Linked DNA regions of Homo sapiens: regions 2, 3, 4 and 5 are each linked to region 1. The links are contacts of gene promoters, found by promoter capture Hi-C in blood cells and fetal thymus (Javierre and others, 2016). All regions are on one chromosome and are shown on one strand. The core of a region is centred on a gene start or on the middle of the fragment in contact, and the rest is flanking DNA. Distances in the headings are between cores, read along the strand shown.

What was found. Contacts are between HindIII fragments. The CHiCAGO score rates a contact against its expected background, and 5 or more counts as called.
Region 2: a contact is called between a fragment that was not itself captured here and the fragment with the promoter of TMF1 in region 1, in 2 of 17 cell types (naive CD4 T cells and activated CD4 T cells). The highest score is 6.3, in naive CD4 T cells.
Region 3: a contact is called between a fragment that was not itself captured here and the fragment with the promoter of TMF1 in region 1, in 1 of 17 cell types (activated CD4 T cells). The highest score is 5.5, in activated CD4 T cells.
Region 4: a contact is called between a fragment that was not itself captured here and the fragment with the promoter of TMF1 in region 1, in 2 of 17 cell types (activated CD4 T cells and non-activated CD4 T cells). The highest score is 14.1, in activated CD4 T cells.
Region 5: a fragment that was not itself captured here is called in contact with the fragment with the promoter of TMF1 in region 1 in 1 of 17 cell types (total B cells); the score reaches 8.3 in total B cells.

Annotation. Positions count from the first base shown.
Region 1 is chr3:69,050,709-69,054,251 of GRCh38, reverse strand. It overlaps TMF1 (TATA element modulatory factor 1), which reads left to right and starts at 1,919. Exons shown (of 17, transcript NM_007114.3): 1 at 1,919-2,307. The coding sequence starts at 2,166. RefSeq lists an enhancer at 1,858-2,327. The HindIII fragment of the contact is 2,649 bases long and covers 1,681-3,543 here.
Region 2 is chr3:66,225,891-66,229,433 of GRCh38, reverse strand. The region is part of intron 1 of SLC25A26 (solute carrier family 25 member 26); the gene reads right to left. Among named protein-coding and RNA genes, the nearest start is that of SLC25A26, 6.7 kb to the right of the region's middle. The HindIII fragment of the contact is 7,505 bases long and covers 1-3,543 here.
Region 3 is chr3:66,468,880-66,472,422 of GRCh38, reverse strand. The region is part of intron 1 of LRIG1 (leucine rich repeats and immunoglobulin like domains 1); the gene reads left to right. Among named protein-coding and RNA genes, the nearest start is that of LRIG1, 30 kb to the left of the region's middle. The HindIII fragment of the contact is 2,560 bases long and covers 586-3,145 here.
Region 4 is chr3:66,487,501-66,491,043 of GRCh38, reverse strand. All of the region lies in intron 1 of LRIG1 (leucine rich repeats and immunoglobulin like domains 1), which reads left to right. Among named protein-coding and RNA genes, the nearest start is that of LRIG1, 12 kb to the left of the region's middle. The HindIII fragment of the contact is 2,458 bases long and covers 420-2,877 here.
Region 5 is chr3:67,015,809-67,019,351 of GRCh38, reverse strand. No RefSeq gene overlaps it. Among named protein-coding and RNA genes, the nearest start is that of KBTBD8, 19 kb to the right of the region's middle. RefSeq lists an enhancer at 909-958. The HindIII fragment of the contact is 5,097 bases long and covers 1-3,543 here.

The DNA of each region.
Region 1 (3,543 bases), core at 670-3,169:
GAGCCACCATGCCTGACCATGTTTTTGTTTCTTTTAAGTGAATAAAACTTCAAACAAAATTAAGTACAAATACTAAAAAAGTAGGTGCTAGTATTTTAATATGAGAACATGTATGTGTTCTCATTCTTTGTTTTTGACTTAGATATGGCAGTTTTCTGTTCAAATGTTTTTTGGTTACTTATGTGTCACTGAGTTAAGTTTTCAGTAATCTTTCTAGCTACATATTGACAAATAAGTTTTATTATAAAACCATACGGAATAAATTTATAAGCTCTACCTGAAAAGTTACAGGTGTAGCTTACAATTTTGAAAGTGAAGGAACTAAAATTTAGCACCATATAGGTGCTATAATAATTCTCAAAGTAGCATTGTAAGAAGGTGACTCTATCTGAGAGCTGAATAAATAGTTTTAGATGGTTTAGGTAGGTCATTTCACCAAAGCTGTACAATTAGAAGTCTTGGAACTGTAACTGTACAGCTAATTTCAACCCGAATCTGCCCCAAATCTCCTCTGCAGACTACTTAGCTGTTTGAAAGTACTTGAGTTACTTGGTACTACTTGTGTACATGACTAAATTGTTAGTTTTAACATGCAAGTTTTTACTGTAGTTAGATAAAATTATTGGAAGATGATTATAACTTCTTAAGGGGTTCAATCTGATTTTTTAAAAGAAAAATAATTCTTTTTTGCAGAGTTCCTTGCAGTGGGGTAAAATATTCAAATATGGGAGGCAGGCATATAAGGTAAATAATCACAGCAGGGAGGGTGTAATAGGATGAGTGATAGGGGTCTGTGGCAAACTGGAGTGAGTGAAAATTATTTGGTGACCACTCTGGCTGACTATTCCCATGCTTGGTATTCATATTTTTCAAAAGCAGCTGGAAATCTAGATTTTTGAATGAAATCTGGCTTTTAGTTAGGATTTTGTCTTTAACTTGGGCCCAAACCAAATATAGCTGCAGACTGGATTAGGAAGGCCACCAATTTAAGGTATTTTCCCATGTCCAAATGTTCGAAGAGAATGCACACAGAAAAGGTTATGTTTTAAGTAATATGCACAGTGCACATTGTTAGGATAACAGCTTTAGTGCTTCCTAGGTGTCTTAGTCCATTTGGACTGCTGTAACAAATTGCCATAAACTGGGTGGCTTATAAGCAGTAGCAATTTGTTTCTTAACAGTTCTAGAGGCTGAGAAGTCCAAGATAAGGAGCCGGCAGATTTGGTGTCTGGTGAGGGCTGCTATTCTGGCTTAGAGTTGGTGCCTTCTTGCCGTGAGCTCCCTTGGGCCTCTCTTATAAGGGCACTAACCCCATTTATGAGGGCTCCATCATCATCTAATCATCTCCTAAAGGCTCCCCTTAATACTGTCCCATTGGAGATTAGGTTTCAACATAGGAATTTGTGCAGGGGACACCGACAGACCACAGTATTAGGGGTATTTTGACTGCAGCAATGAGTTTACTACTATTTTGAGAGAGAGGTTGTGCTTTATGCACCATGTGTTCCACGAGTTGGACACAGTGTTCATACGTGATCCTGTCTTTTAGGCAAGCCCAAACAAGTGTTTCTCCTTACAATACCAAGTTAATACAGAGCTTATTAAATATTTGAGACAAAGGGCTAAGAGAAGTGTGAGGCCCAATTTCCCTTTGCAATTATTGCTGGCAAGGTGCAAGCTTTTAGCACGTGAACTATTTTCCTGGAAAGCACACACACGAAAACTTGAATATTCCTTCCGGGGAAATCGACCTCTATCGGTAGCCATAGCTTCCCCTTCGCTAAGAACTGCTGTAAGCACGAAATCGACATCAATAGAAACCCTTCCGCGTTCCTCGGTAACTAACGGCAACCCTGCGCTCCCGGATGTGACGTCAACGTTCTTCTGTTCTTCCGTCTGTCGACCGAACTCTGGGCTCGTAGATTTGGTTGCTGTGTACGTGGAAGAAGCAAGCGCATGCGCACATGGGCCCCCTTCGTCTCAGCTGTGCGGGAACGGCCGAGGGTAACATCCCGGGCTCGCGGGAGGCTGTCGGGGTAATGGCCACACGCTGACAGAACCAGCCGAGTGGAAAAGGGGAGCGAAGCCGTTCCTCTGCACCCTTCCCCAGGCCTGAGGCCTTCCCGCTTGGTGCTGCCGCCGCCACTGCCGGCTGAGGAGGGGCGATGAGTTGGTTCAACGCCTCCCAGCTCTCCAGCTTCGCTAAGCAGGCCCTGTCCCAGGCCCAGAAGTCTATTGACAGGGTTCTGGACATCCAGGAAGAGGAGCCGAGCATCTGGGCCGAGACCATTCCGTATGGAGAGCCGGGTAAGAGAGAGAGGAGCGGGGTTCCTGGCTCCCGGAGGCTGCTGTTCTCTTGATGCAGGCAGGTTAAGTGGTGTAGAGAGGGGTCCTTCCTTGCTGAGAGAGTTTTCAGGAAGTAATTTCTCCCCGGCCCGTTCCCTAATGCTGCTTCAGCCTCCAAGTCGGTCTTTGCTGTTTTCCTGAGGGAAAACCCAGATCCAGGTTCCCCCTTGTCTTTCTTTGGTCCTGGGTGCGAGGCTTGTGGACTTGGATGACAGGGGACTTGGTTGGTTGGTCTTGCCCTCAAGCTCTCCCTCGACGCAGCTTCCAAGCACAACCTTCCCGAACCTGAACCTCGAATTGCTTCGCGTCTCGGGCACTGTTGGGATCCAAGGTCTGAAGTACGTAAATCATCAGGGAAGGGAAGAACAATCGCTAACAGTCAGTGAACATTTCGCGCTTGGTAGCGCGTAATGTGGTTTTATGTTGTTGTTGAGACGGAGTCTCACTCCGTCGCCCAGGCTGGAGTGCAGTGGCGCGATCTCGGCTCACTGCAACCTCCGCCTCCCAGGTTCTAGCGATTCTCCTTCCCCAGCCTCCCTAGTAGCTGGGATTACAGGCGCCCACCACCACGCCCGGCAACTTTTTGTATTTTTAGTAGGGACGGGGTTTCACTATGTTGGCCAGGCTGGTGGAACTCCTGACTTAAGGCGATCCACCCACCTCGGCCTCCTAAAGTGCTGGGATTACAGGCACGAGCCTGTAATGTGCTTTTTTATGGCCTTCTCATCTTCAGAACAACTCCCAGAGAGAGCTTGGTTTATATCCGTGTTTTACATAAGAGGAAAATGAGGCCCAGAATGGCCAAGTAACTTGCTCTAGGTCACACGGCGGAGGAGGATTAGAATGTGCCGGAGGTATTAGCCGGAAAATGTGTGACCCAAGATTTCTGGATGGTATCACATTTTATTTCTGAATAGCCAAGTCTCTCTTTGCAGTTTCATTGAGCTTAATCTTTCAGGGATCTTCATTCAGTTGCTTTTGACTCTTAAGTCTAAGGAACAGTTCAGCATTTGATGTGTGGGGTAAAGATTTGCTGGTGTTGGGGGATGTGAACCTTTGTGTGAAAAAGGATAAGAGATGTACTTGACTACTCCTTTCTGGTTTCTGTTCTTAATTTTACATCATTGAAAAGTCAGGACCTAAATTTGAGGTACCTCAGTTTAAGATATTTTGGTCCATGTGTGTATGTGATGATCC
Region 2 (3,543 bases), core at 682-3,181, 2.8 Mb after region 1:
ATTACCTCCACCTTTGGTTCGTCCTTGACACATGGGGATTATGGGGATTACAATTCAAGATGAAATTTTGGGTGGGGACCCAGCCAAACCATATCAGTCTTCTTAGGGAAACTAACCTCTCTAAGCCTTTGTTTCTTGACACATGAAACAGGGAAAAGAGTACCTATACTTCATAGAGTTTTTGAGAATTAAATAAAATAAATGAGAACTAAACACAATCAGATGAACCTGTTATATGGTTAGCAAAATGCCTAGGCCTTAATCAATTATCAATAAACTACTATTTTTAGAATTATATTACTATAAACATCCTTCAAAGTTTGCTGGTACCAATACTGACATGCAAATACTAAAAACCACGCAAAAGCCTAAAGAGTACTTTACCAAACACTGAAGATGACATTCCTATATTCAACTCAACTGACAAATTCATATATTAAAATCTGTAAATTCAAGTTTTTCACTAGCAATAATGAATTAAAAGCTCTTCTCAAATTCTGCTCTCTGGACAAGAATCCCCAGTGAACTGACTCAACAGAAACCAAATCATGTGATGCATGACAGGAACATTCAGCATCAACTTCAAAAACTTAAAGAGAAATATAAGTGTTCAAATTGCTTTATGATTCTTGAATTCAAACTTACATGTTAATTTTTTAAAGTAGAATATAAAATTATACCTATATGACCTCAGCTATGAAAAAGTTGCATAAGCACTTTTAAAGTGCTCAGTAAACAGTTAAGTGTTACCACCACTTGGAATTATATAATTAAGTTTCGTTTAGCATCTGCCTCCTACTAGACTCTAAATCCCTGAAGGTGGGGGACCATATTTTTCAGGCATTCAACCCCAAATAACACAGCAAAGGCCAACAAATGTATCTGGTTAAGCATGTAAAAGACACCTGATTTGGGGAGGTGAGATAACTGTGGGTGTAACTTTTATCTTTCCTTTATTTGGAATTTAATTAATGTTACCCAAATTTTGTCTGTATTACAAAAGATTTAATATTTAGAGCAACTTTCAACATGTAGTAGTAGGGTTTGGAAGTGGTAACAAAACCACATTAACAAGTCACTTACAGCTAAGTTATCAAATACTAAAACTTTCCAAGTATGCCTTTCTTAAACAGAAAGAAAAATGAAAAAAGAAAGGTAGTCCCATCTGTGGGTAGTAGAGATGCACAAAAAAATGCCTCCATCACAGTGGTGGTTATCAGTTGTGGTCCTTGCATGATTGGTGCTCTCCAAGCAGTGCTTTGCATGCTCCACGGGCTGAGCAAAATTTGGAATATACTTGTGTTTAGATAATTTCTTGCTCAACACAAAAGCAAGCAAAAAGGGAAGACCTGCTCACTCTGACGTAAATGCCAAAAATAAACAAGTCACACAAGTCCTGAGAAAGAGAAGCATAATTCTCAATTTTTTATAAATTTGGAGATAATCTTTAAAGATGCCCTTTACTCCAAATTGAAAACTAGGAGGTCACTATCCAGAAAAGATAAGAGGCAAAACAAGAAAAACAACAAAACAGAAAACCTCTTTTAATAGTATACCCAATACTTCATTCGTATTACCTTTCTTCACTCCACCCAAGAACCCCTGCCATCATAACCCACATTGTTCCCCTCAAGTATCCTACTGCCTGTAAGGTGGTTCTCAGCAGAAGGGCAGGTCCAGTGAGAAGACACCCAAGTATCACGAAAAAGCTCCCCAGATGACAGCACCAGCCAAAAATCACCTCACTAAAAACAGGAAAACAAAAACTACAAGCGGTCCTCACTTTGCATGGTACCTACATACATGAATTTCAGTTACCATGATTTACTTAAATAACATGAATCTCCCAATGACCCAGGTCAAATTTCAGTTACCACAGCATATTAACTATGAGTAACTGGATAAAGTGTAAACTTCACCACTTGTTCAGTCCACAAATCACAATACAATTAACAGAAATCACTGCCTATTACTCAGTTTACGCACAGACAGCAAATAGTTGTTACCTCATCTCCCAGTAATAAATGCACACGACATTTTATAAAAATAGACAGAAAACTGATGAACAAAGATGAAAATGCAAAAAAAATGAAAAGTGGTAACACAAAGTTAAACAAAAATCAGACATAAATGGTATTAGAGAACAAACAGCTGGCCATGGAAATATTCACACTGCTGTCATTAATCTAGATAAGTAACTAGAAAAAATAAGTGAGAGCAAATTTAACATAAATAAGGAAAGTAGTTGTGATGAAAAGGATGAAAATGTCCCAGACTAAGTTATGTCAGCAAGTCTTCGCATTAAACGAACTCACAACATTGAAAGCACAAAAAATAAAATGTTAGAAGTTGATCCAAACTGAGAAAGCAGTATGACAACTTGCCAAGGCATAAAAAGATGCTTCTTCTATAATACATAATGAGAACACAAGCAAATGTTCAAACTACTGTTGATAAGGTTTTGTCCAAAAAATTAAGTTATTAATGTTTCTAATGTTTTTAATTACAGTGTACTAAATAAACATCAGCTTTGCAATTTTTCCCCTATATATTACAACCAAAGCGTTTTTAATGTTTTGACAAAAATTCTTAGGGTGGGCCAGGTGTGGTGGCTCATACCTGTGACACCTCTTTCTACAAAAAAAATTTTCTAAAAACTGTAAGAACAACATGGGCTGGGCTCAGTGGCTCATGCCTGTAATCTCAGCACTTTGAAGCTGAGTCAGGAGGATTGCTTGAGGCCAGTACTTCAAAACCAGCCCTGGCAACACAGCAAGACCCTGTCTCTACAAAACAAGAAAATTTTTAATTAAAAAATTAGCCAGGCGTGGTTGGTGCATGCCTCTAGTCCCAGCTACTCAGGAGGCTGAGGTGGGAGGATCACTTGAGCAGAGACAGCACCACTGCACTCCAGCCTGGGCAACAGAGGAAGACCTTGTCTCAAAAAAAAAAGAAAAGAACGCACATGAAATGGTTTGGCTCTGGGTCCCCAACCAAATCTCATCTTGAATTGTAGCTCCCATAATTCCCACATGTTGTGGGAGGGGCCTGGTGGGAGGTAATTGAATCATGGTGGCAGGTCTTTCCCATTCTGTTCTGGTGATAGTGAATAAGTCTCACAAGATCTGATGATCTCATAAAGGGGAGTTCTCCTGCATACGCTCTCATCTGCAGCCATGTAAGACGTGACTTTGCTCCTCCTTTGCCTTCTACCATGATTGTGAGGCCCCTCTGCCAGCCATGTGGAACTGTTAGTCCATTAAACCTCTTCCCTTTATAAATTACCCAGTCTTGGGTATGTCTTTATCAGCAGTGTGAGAACAGACTAATACAGGAAATTGGTACCCACAGTAGGGTGCTACTATAAAGATACCTGAAAATGTGGAAGCGACTTCAGAATGGGTAACAAGCAGGGGTTGGAACAGTTTGAAGGGCTCAGAAGACAGGAAGATGTGGGAAAGTTTGGAACTTCCTAGAGACTTGTTGAATGGCTTTGACCAAAATGCTGACAGTGAGATGGACAATAAAATCCAGGCTGAAGTG
Region 3 (3,543 bases), core at 616-3,115, 2.6 Mb after region 1:
GTTTACGCAATTCTGTTGTGTGGCACATGGCAGTCGAAGAAGCTTTCCTTGTTAGTTTGCATCTTTCCTGTGACCATCCGAAGTTAGTGTTTTTTTTTTTTTTTTTTTTTTTTTTTTTTGAGACAGAGTCTTGCTCTGTCACCCAGGCTGGAGTGCAGTAGTGTGATCTCGGCTCACTGCACGCTCCGCCTCCCGGGTTCTCGCCATTCTCCTGCCTCAGCCTCCCCAGCAGCTGGGACTACAGGCGCCCACCACCACGCCAGGCTAATTTTTTGTATTTTTAGTAGAGATGGGATTTCATCGTGTTAGCCAGGATGGTCTTGATCTCCTGACCTCATGGTCTGCCTGCCTTGGCCTCCCAAAGTGCTGGGATTACAGGCATGAGCCACCACGCCTGGCCCGAAGTTAGTGAATTTTAAAGCTGCATCACATTTTCAGAAACACCCTGGATTTTGCATTGGTGGTTTCATAGGAAGCTAATCAGTCTCCTGAAAGTGGACATTTAGCAGGGGCCAGGGGCGGATGTGGAGGGGTAAAGGTGGAAGTTTTAGGAAAGGAAAACAGTAATCCGTGACCAGAGAAGCTTTGGTGGACTTTACAAAGCACTTGGTGAACCTGGGATTCCAAATGTATCCACCAGGTTAATGTGTCCTTTTTCTCAGTTTTACCCATCCCATATTTCCTGTCCCTTTTGCCTGACTTGTTTTCAGTACTCCAGAAGCAAAAGTCTCCGTTTTCTGCCGCAGTAGAGCGTGGTTTTCATTTATGAGAACCCTCTGCCATCCTTTAACTGAGAGAACCTCTGGGTTTTACCTCTGGCCGCCCTTCATCCCCGCCATGCCCTCCGTCCCTGCTGGTTGGGATGGATGAGCCTTTGCTCTCCCTGCAGCGGCTGGGGCCCTAGGCTGTCAGGGCACCTCGGGGAAGAGTTCAGTGGGAGCAGGGAGCACCTGGCTCCAAGGTTCCAACCCCCCTCTGTTCTGCAGAATGACTGGGCTCCCAGGAGGTAAAGATTCAGCTCTGTTACTGGATGGGGTGAGGATAGGGGGGCTATTGTGCAGGTGATGAGTTTGCCAAGTCCTGTAGAGCTTAAGGACTATGTGAAAGTTAGTGAATTAGTGTTTCTTTTTGGAGATGATAAAGTAGAGAATAGGCGATCCTGAATGACCAGACTTCTGACCCATCTCTTCCCGCTCCCCATTTCCAAGCCTCTGCAAAGCACTTCTCTAATAGCAAAGCCAAATGGTGGCTGTAGGCACCTCTTGCCTGCTGGGGTGGCCATGGTGATATTCCCTTTGTGGCAGGTCTGTGGGAGGGTCAGCCTCTGGCAGCAGCTATTCCCTGCCCAAATTCCTTTTGCTTGTAAAGTCCCCACCAACTGCAGAGCTGGTGTGTTGGAGCGCCTCTTCTTAATTAAATTAATTAATCTTTAGGGGTTAATGATGCACATACCATATTAACAAGAGACTATTATGGGAAATTTGTGGGCTTTCCTCAGTACTAAACTGCACTAAAGATGAGACTGCTTAAAGTAAAACAAAACAAAACCCATTATAGCTAATTATTTTGTTTCTTTTTGGCCAAACTAAGATTTTTGGTAGGAAAGATCCTAGAATCTCCCATTTTAAGGGGTAGTATAGAAAGCAAATGCTAACTGCCTTCAGTGATGGTGAGAAAACAAATTGGGCCTCTTGATTATCTAGTTCAGAACTTTTAAGTAAATGAACAAGGCGATACTCTGTTCTTATGGAAATCAACTTTAATGGCCCCATAGATTAATGTTCGTGAGGGACCTGGCACTGGGGTTTGCTAAGGTTTATATAACCCTTGACTTAACCGCCTGGTGGGTTGTGGGTCTGGCAGCATGGGGCTATTCTTCTCAACTTTGCTGTAAAACCATTTGTGTCTTGCCCTTTCCTTTCTAGGAGGTCCTGACTTCTTGGCCTTTTTGTTTGCTTATTTTACTCCATGCCCTCCATTCCTTATTTTACTTTTCTGGCCTCGTTTCCCAGGACTCCTCTTCAAAAAAACATGCTCTTCTTCTAGGCTTAGCTGAAATCTTGCATTTTCAATAAACGTTTCTCATTACAGCTGATCTTTCCTGCTCTGGACGCCATCTGGCCTTCATTCATGTTATCCATGCTAGGGATGACAAACTCAGATCTCGGGCTGGGAAGATACTGCCGGTGAATAAAGAGGGCATGGGTGAGACAATAAGGAGTGGTGAGGTCTGTGGTCATTGGAATGCTTGGTAAATGCATGTAGTTGATTGTTTCTGTTAGGAATGCTGGCCCTCCGATTATTTTCAAGAAAAGCTGAAACTTTAGTTTTTGGTGAAAACTTTAGGTTTCTACCAACACTGTTCAGTCAGAAACAAGCAAGTTTCCCTGCAGCCCAGCTTTGTACCCACAAACTACCAATTTGTAGCTACTGATCTACCATTACAGAATGCTTGCAAGTGTCAGAGCCTTTGGCTGTGTTATTTGGTCAGTATTCTTTTTTTTTTTTTTTTTTTGGTAGGGACAGGGTCTCACTATGTTGCCCAGGCTGGTCTCAAATTCCAGGCCTAAAGTGATTCCCCGACTTTAGCCTCCGAAAGTGCTGAGATTTATAGGCGTGAACCACCACACCCGGCCAGGAGTCTTAACTTGACCAGTGGGTTGTAAACCACTTCAAGTCACAGACTAGATCTTATCCTAATTTGTTATCAGTTTATCACAGTGCAGTATACCTTGTAGACAATAAATATTTGTCAAATTTGACATTTGTTGGGTGCTAGAGGGAAAAGATGTAGACTTGTACTCAAATTAGCTACAGACCAGGATGACATGTGTGAACTAGTAAGGCCGAGAAGCACATGTAAGACCTTATGGGATCACAGAGGTAGGCATGAGTTTCTTCTCTCAGTTAACGTCACGGGCGTTAGACTTCAGAGGCCCACACTGATTATTATAGCTGATTTTTAAGGAGTAAAAATAGGCAATGAGTCTGGGTCCATATATAGCTGTATGTATATAGTATCTCCTATTTTGAGTCACTGTAGGTTTCCCTTATTTGCATAGATAATGGTCTATGTAAAATTTTCAGAAATGGAAATAACTGGTGACTCATTACTGACTTTGTGAGATACAACTGCCCAAAAGCTTACAAAATGAGCTATTTGTATCATGTTGAGATCTGAGTGATTTTTTTCATTTGATTATTTGCAGAATATGTTCTTTTGCCATAGGGAATATGTGGCTGCTTAGCTTACTGAAGAGAGGTAGCAGCAAGTACAGAACCTTCTCCTGAGTGGAGATCCTTGGATAGGATACTAGAGGAATGATTCCAGTTCAAGATACAATTTTGTCATCTTAATATAAGCCTTTAATGTGCATTATCCGCTTGTTCAGTTGTGGTTTTTGGTTAACAAGGGGAAGCATCACAATACAAAAAAAGGTAAGAACATCTAATATTCTGGGATTTGAACGAAGTCTTATTCTCTTTTATAAAACCTTACAACATGGGAACATAATGTGGTGATTTCATTGGAGCTTGATGTGT
Region 4 (3,543 bases), core at 399-2,898, 2.6 Mb after region 1:
GTTCTCCAAGTAGCTGCTGCATGGTTTGTTTTATTTTATAAAAGTCCATAGTTTAATTTCTCCTCAGTCCGGTACTTTGTTGGTGAGGGGGCTTCTTTAGAATGGATTTTTTGCTAGCTGCAGCTTCATTTAGGAATCTGAGTGGGAATTACTAGTCCTCCAAATTCCATTCACTTTATCCTAGTTTTTGGAATGACTTCCATCTTCTATCTGTGAAAATCAAATTCCAGGTAGATTATGGAGTGTTCGGTGGCCTTAAAAGCTGTCCAACATGGTCAGGTTAAACTGGTGGATCTGTGAAGCTTAATTAAATTTATATGATAACCGATTATACACCATTTACAGTGGGTTCTCTGTTTAGAAAAGTGGAAGCACGCTCCAATGCATTTTTTTTTTTTAAATTATGGGGCAGAAAAGCTTAGTATTGAGAGATTCTATGAAATTAAGTGCTGTTCTGCAAATTAGGAGAACACCATTCTTTCATCTGGTTTTAGCAGTGTGGTGGTACCTTGACCCAGCATCATGCCTCCGTCTTAGTTTTCGTTTTATTTTTAATTAAGAAGAATTTTTCTCTGTGTCTGTGGTTTCCTCCCTCCACCTGGGCTGGTGTGAGTTTCTGGCACACAAGCTCCCAGTGCTTGCAAAACTTATAAACAGTCAGAAGAGCTCGTTGCTTCCAGGAAGTGAATTGTTGATGCAATGAAGTGATGGATGCAGAGGCTGCAGCTCGAAGGGAGCAGGGTTTCCTTCCATCTTGGAGGAGGGGAGATCCAGAAAACAAGCTGACATGCCCTGTAGTTATTAAGATCTGCCTCATCCCAAATTCCTCTGATTGTTTTCTCAGATTTGGAGTCTGTGTAGGACTCTTTGCTTTGGGTGGTTTGGCCTTATCCAGGGCTATGCTTTACCCAATGGAAAAATCAGAGACTCTTCTATGGAGATTTTTGGGTTCTTTCACAAGGTCATTTGAAACAATACTTAGAAATGAGTAAATTATATTCATTTCATTACTATCCTAAAATAAAGATTGGCTGACCTTATTATTTACTTGGGAGAAACTTTATGTGAAGTCGTGGTGCTCAGAATGTCTTTCTGGACAGAAAGGAGACCACGTTTTCATGGAGTTTCTTAAAGGGGTGCTTGCCCAAAGAGGCATAAAAATGATTCACCTGAGAGGAAAAAATTAATTTTCTTAAAGTCATGAAAGTGAGGATGTGGTAGAATGGGAAACTAGCTCATGGCTGGGCCTCAGGAGACGTTGGGGTTTCGTCCCAGCTCTGCCACTGATTGGCAGCATAACCTTGGGCTAGTCACTTCATTTCCTGTCTGTAAAGGGATGTATAATTTCTAAGACCCCTCATTTTTAGGTTCATGATTCTATTCTAATTGAAGCAAAAAGGGAGTAAACTTATATTTCATTGGATGGTAAGAATTAAATTGATCTGTATCTAGGATACTTAAACATTCTCTCTCTCTCTGTGTGTGTGTTAGACACACACACACACACACACACACACATACACACAAAGGGTCCCACTCTGTCACCCAGGTTGGAGTGCAGTGGCGCAATCATGGCTCACTATAGCCGTGACCTCCCAGGCTCAAGTGATCCTCCTACCTCAGTCTACTGAGTAGCTAGGACTACAGGCATGTGCCACCACACCTGGCTAGTTTTTATTTTTTGTGAAGATGGGATCTTGCTGTGTTGCCCAGACTGGTCTTGATCTCCTGGGCTCAAGTGATCCTCCTGCCTTGGCCTCCCAAAGTGCTGGGGTTACAGATGTGAGCTACCATGCTAGGCCAATGTTTGCTACTTCTGAGTGAAATTCTCAGATGGATACCATAAGCAGCAAAGAGAAAAAAGGGTATGTGCATGCAGAGTCTCAATGAGGGACCCTTTTGTGAGCCTTGAGATATTATTGAGGAGGAGTGAATACTCCACAAAGAAAGTGGTGCTTTCCTTCATTTTTACCTCCTTTTCCCCTCTGGCCCAAAGAAAACTGTGGAGGCTGGTACAGATCCACTTTCGATCTTTGATTTAGAATTTTAAGAACTTAGGTAAAAATTTAAAGAAAAAAAACCAGGAAAATAAATTACAGGCATGTTTTCCCAAAGGGTCCTTTCTCAGGGCCACTGCAGGCAGCATCTTTCTCAGGCAGTCCTTCAGTGAATACTTGCCATAAGTGAAGTTGTAAATGATGCTGAGAAACTGCCTTTAAGGACTGGATGGGCCACCTGTCACATTCTATAGTCATGGCCACAGGAAGGGCAGCTACTCACTGCACTGCCTGTTCTTTCTGGGCCAGCTTGCCATCCCTTTTACCAGGGAGATCTTTCGTGTATCCCTTTCAAGATAGAAACTCAGCCAATTAACATGTACAGCCTAGTGGCTTCCTTTTTCTTTTTTGAGGCAGAGTCTCACTCTGTCGCCCAGGTTGGCGTGCAGTGGTGTGATCTCAGCTGACTGCAACCTCTGCCTTCCTGGCTCAAGTGATTCTCTTGCCTCAGCCTCCCAAAGAGCTGGGATTACAGGCGCCTGCCACCAAGCCAGGCTAATTTTTTTTTTTTTGTTTTTTTTTAGTAGAGACAGGGTTTTACCATGTTGGCCAGGCTGGTTTTGAACTCATGACTGACCTCAAGTGATCCATCCACCTCAGCGTCCCAAAGTGCTAGGATTACAGATGTGAGCCACCACGCCCGGCTGTGGCTTTTTCTAATTTTGAAGTCTGACTCTGTTTTTGGCCAAATTCATATTAAATTTACCCATCTACCTAGGTTTGCATTGGTTACCTCTTAGTTACACTGTTTTTGAAAATCTTGAAAATTATGACAGTAATTGGACTCCTTAAAATACTTTTCATGGAGAATCTAGAAGCTTTTATTTTCTTTGTTCTGGATGTCCACTTTTCTTCGACGTGGAATTTGTTAGTGCCTTCAGTGGAAATTCTTGGGCTTTTCTTTTCCTTCCACTCATTCTTTATCGTGTAAATTTTCATAAAACGAAACTTCCGGATTTAAAATTTATTTTTATTTTTATTATTGTTTTCCGGAACAAATTCTTGGAATTTGGAGTTTTGTTTGGGGATACAACTAAAATGCAATGAAGTTGGAGGAACAGTTAGTGGTCTGGAACTTCTTGACAGAAGTTTAACAACAATTAGGGACTACTTTAGGAATAGAGTGTCCAAAAAACTAGACTTTACAAAAAAAATTCTCCCTTTAAGAACCAAAGATGACCTTTTTCCATTGTGCTTTCTGAGCTCAAAACAGGCCAAATGATGTTCCCACCCTTCTTCGAGCCTCGTGTGTCAGTGTCACACACTCTCCCTGTTACTCACTTGGTCTCGTTCTGGTGAATTTATTGTTGACATCTCGTCCTTTCCCGGAGGAATCTCTGAGTCTATCTGATTAGGTAACTCTTCACACATCCCTGTATGTGTGTATGTGTGTGTGTGTGTTTCTCTCCACTTAGACTTGAAAGCAGCAGGGATCATTCAATTTCATGTACCTAGGAGTCCCTTGATAATTATTTGTTTATTGCCT
Region 5 (3,543 bases), core at 756-3,255, 2.0 Mb after region 1:
TCTGTCCATCTTTATCTGCAGCTAATTGATTTCACAACTTTTCCAGATGTTAAAATGCCAAGCCCCATATAAAAATGTTTGCCAATCACGGCTAAGCCTGCAAATGTATCTTTCCAAACAACGGGAAATATGGAGTCAGAGAGTCCCAGAGAGGAAAACTAAACCGCCGGAAAGCAGAAGCGGGATATTCATGCCATTGTTCCTTGAATTGGTTGAGGGACCCCTGTCTGTCAAGCACCATGATCCGCGCTCAGTACACACTCGAGATAAAGGGTCCTTGCCCTTGGGGAGCTTCAAATCCAAGCAGACTCAGACACAGAAGAGGAGCAGTGTCCCGTGTCAAGGTGCAGAAGGGTGAGCGGAGAGGAAGGCCACACTCATTAACAGAGGAAAGTTCCTCTGAGTCACTGGTTAGGCGGTGAGATGTTCCAGTGAATGAAATCATTCATATCACTATTCTATATGAAGAAACCATTTTTCAGAGTCCAAATTTAAAACCTGCACTTAACAGTGAACATTTGATGAACAAAAGGTTGAACTGAGTTTTCAGGAGCCGTCTTCATTCTGAACACCAAGTTTTCCCTTCACATGCAGCCTCTTTCCTTTCTCAAGGCTATGCTCCTGCTTCTCCCAGGACCTCTCTGTCCTTGGCTCTTTGAAATGCTCTCTTCCCCTTCCTTAAGTCCTCACGTGGGCCCTCCGACGCTTGGCTCTCACCCGGGCTCTTCTCGTTCCCTCTGTAAGTGCCTTGAGCGCTGACCGGTATTTGGGTGACTGCCAACTCCACATCTTCGCCTGACCTATCACCTTCATTCAGTTTCCTGTCTCCACACCCATCCTGGCTGTTTCTCGGCACAGTAATCTATACATAGTGATCCTCTGTCACTTGAAACTCAGCTCTTCCAAAAGTGAACTCACTCACTTTACATCCCAAACTGGCTCCTTGACCAGCAAGAAGGTCTGCAGTCCCAGCACCTCCACGTTCTGCCTTTGAATATAACCATTCGGGCCATCTTCCTGGGTCCCTGCTCACTAGGGAGTGGGAGGAAATTAACAGGTCTGCTTTCATTTACAGCTAAGTTTGATCCCTAAGTTTAACAACTCCTTTTCTGTTTCTTTGTTTCTTCAAAAGTAAAAGGGGGACAATGACAGATGGCTGCAGCACCGGTAGTAGGAACCAAAAAGATAACAGATACCAAAGCATTTCAAAAACTAGAAAGTGATATGCAAGAATAAGATATTAGTCAGTGTCTCATAGATATTATTTTTCACATGGGTCGTTGTTATCATATATGTAAGTATGATAGATATGTTTTGTCATGCAAAACAGGATAGATATATTTTTTCATGCTACCATGGAAATCAACCTCACACAGGTCAGTGCCCAGTAAAGTGTGGATAGCATTTTAATTTTTGGAATAGTAAAATGTAGATTAAAAAGAAAATTATAACCAATTTCTTAGAAACCTTCAAGAAGGATACACAGATACTGATGCAAGTATTTTGCTGTGTATCACATTTATATATGAATATAAAAACCTCGTGTATCCCGGAACTTAAATGAAATTTTAAAAAGGAAAAATGAGGAAAAGATATGAATAAACAATTCATATAAAGTGAAAAAAAAGCCTATATACACATATCAAAATTACTCTCCTCTTTTTTCTGCCTGCAGCTATAGGGTAAAGTTATAAAATAAAATTATAAAATCCTACCATGATTTTATAAATTGTGAATCAAAATTGCCCCAGGACATATACTTGTACAACTTGAGGTGAGATCCATGAAACTCCCCACTCACTGGGGCAGGCCCCTGAGTGATAGGTGTCATCTCCCTGTCATCTCCAGCTACACAAACACCAAGTGAGAGGACCCTTGTCCTCTTTACTTTCACGTATGCATGCTCTGATTAGCTCATCCATTCTTCTGCCTGTTGACTCCTGCCATCACCACACCCACCACATACTTTAGAAAGCACAGGATAATTGAGCCCTTATCACAAACCAGATGTTTTGGGTCAGGGGTGGGAACCATATTTGGCTCTGGGGCAAAGTAGCAAGAAGTTGCAAAAACTCTTACTATTTTCATTCTTTTTCAGAAATGTAAGAGGCTATAGAAAGTGTGTCTACCTCTCTCTGGGTCAGGATTTTCTCTTTTTTCACTCTGCTCCTATTTCTAGGGGTTTGTCTTTCATCAGTCCTGCCTCTTTGCATGTTTTTGCATATCCCTAATCTCTTTAACTTTTGGGGTTAACGGGTATACTGCAGAACTCTCAACCGGGAATAGTCTAGAAATGGAAAAGATTTTGACTTTTTGCAAGGATATTTCTCATTTCCCATTTTTATTGAAAAGGCCTAAATGTTCTGATTTTTAAAAAAATATTATTTCTCCAGCACCTCCACGTCTCAGAATCTCCTCACCTGCAGGCTTCCTGGGGAAGCACCTGCACTCTCACCCACTGACACCCACTCACATCCTCCACCTGCACCTTAATTCACAGCAATTGGTTTTCATCTCTTGCACTTGGCTAAAACCACTTTCTCATTTCAGATCTTCACATGGCTAGACCAGGAGCCTCTTACTCTCTGCATTTCATTTCTTCTCTTTGGATCTCATTCCTGAAGTTTTCTCATGCATTACTACTCCTTTGTGATTCTCCCTTCTTCTCTGATAACTTTTCAGTTGCCTTTCTTCTGTTCCTTCAGCTGAATTTCTTAAATTTTATTCTTAGCTACTTTCGCTTCTCATTTTACAATTTATCTTTGCACTAACTCATCCATTAACTCAAATTCAACTAAAACCAGCTCTGTGGATATGCCAGACTCCTAAGTTCCATCGCTAACCTTGACCAAGCTCTTGAGCTTTAAGAACAGTTGTCAGAGAGCACCATGGATTTCTTACTATCTCAGGTTCTCACTGATTACAAGGAAATACTCCCCTGCGTTGTGTGGGTTCCTGTTGGCATTTGCTCCTCAAGACTTAACTTTGGCTACTTGACATCGTAATCTAAGTGTTGGGATAAGATGTTTTGACCTTATCTTCTTATCCTTAAAGGATTTTGCAAGCATGTGTTTCAAGAACTGAACTATGTGACCGCAACTCTGTTAAATCCTGCTGTGAACTGAATGTTTCTGCCAATTCCGCCAAATTCATGTGCTGGAATCCTAACCCCCAATGTGATGGTATTAGGAGGTAGGGCCGTTGCGGGTGGTTAGGTCATGAGGGATCTGGGATTAGTACCTTTATAAAAAGACACTAGAGAGCTTGCTTTATCTTTCTCTTTCTCTGCTCTTCACCATGAGAGGATGCGATGAGAAGAGGGCCCTCACCAGACACAGGATCTGCCAGCACCTTGATCTTAAACTTCCAGACTCCGGGACTGGGAGAAATAGATGTTTGTTATTTAAGCCATGCAGCCTATGGCAATTTGTTATGGCAGCCTGAACTGACTAGGACAGGTCCTTATCTCTGAATGGGAACAGAGAACAAGATAAACTCTAAGGACAGGCCCTTGTCAGTTTGTAAAAATAGACAAGCCAAAAA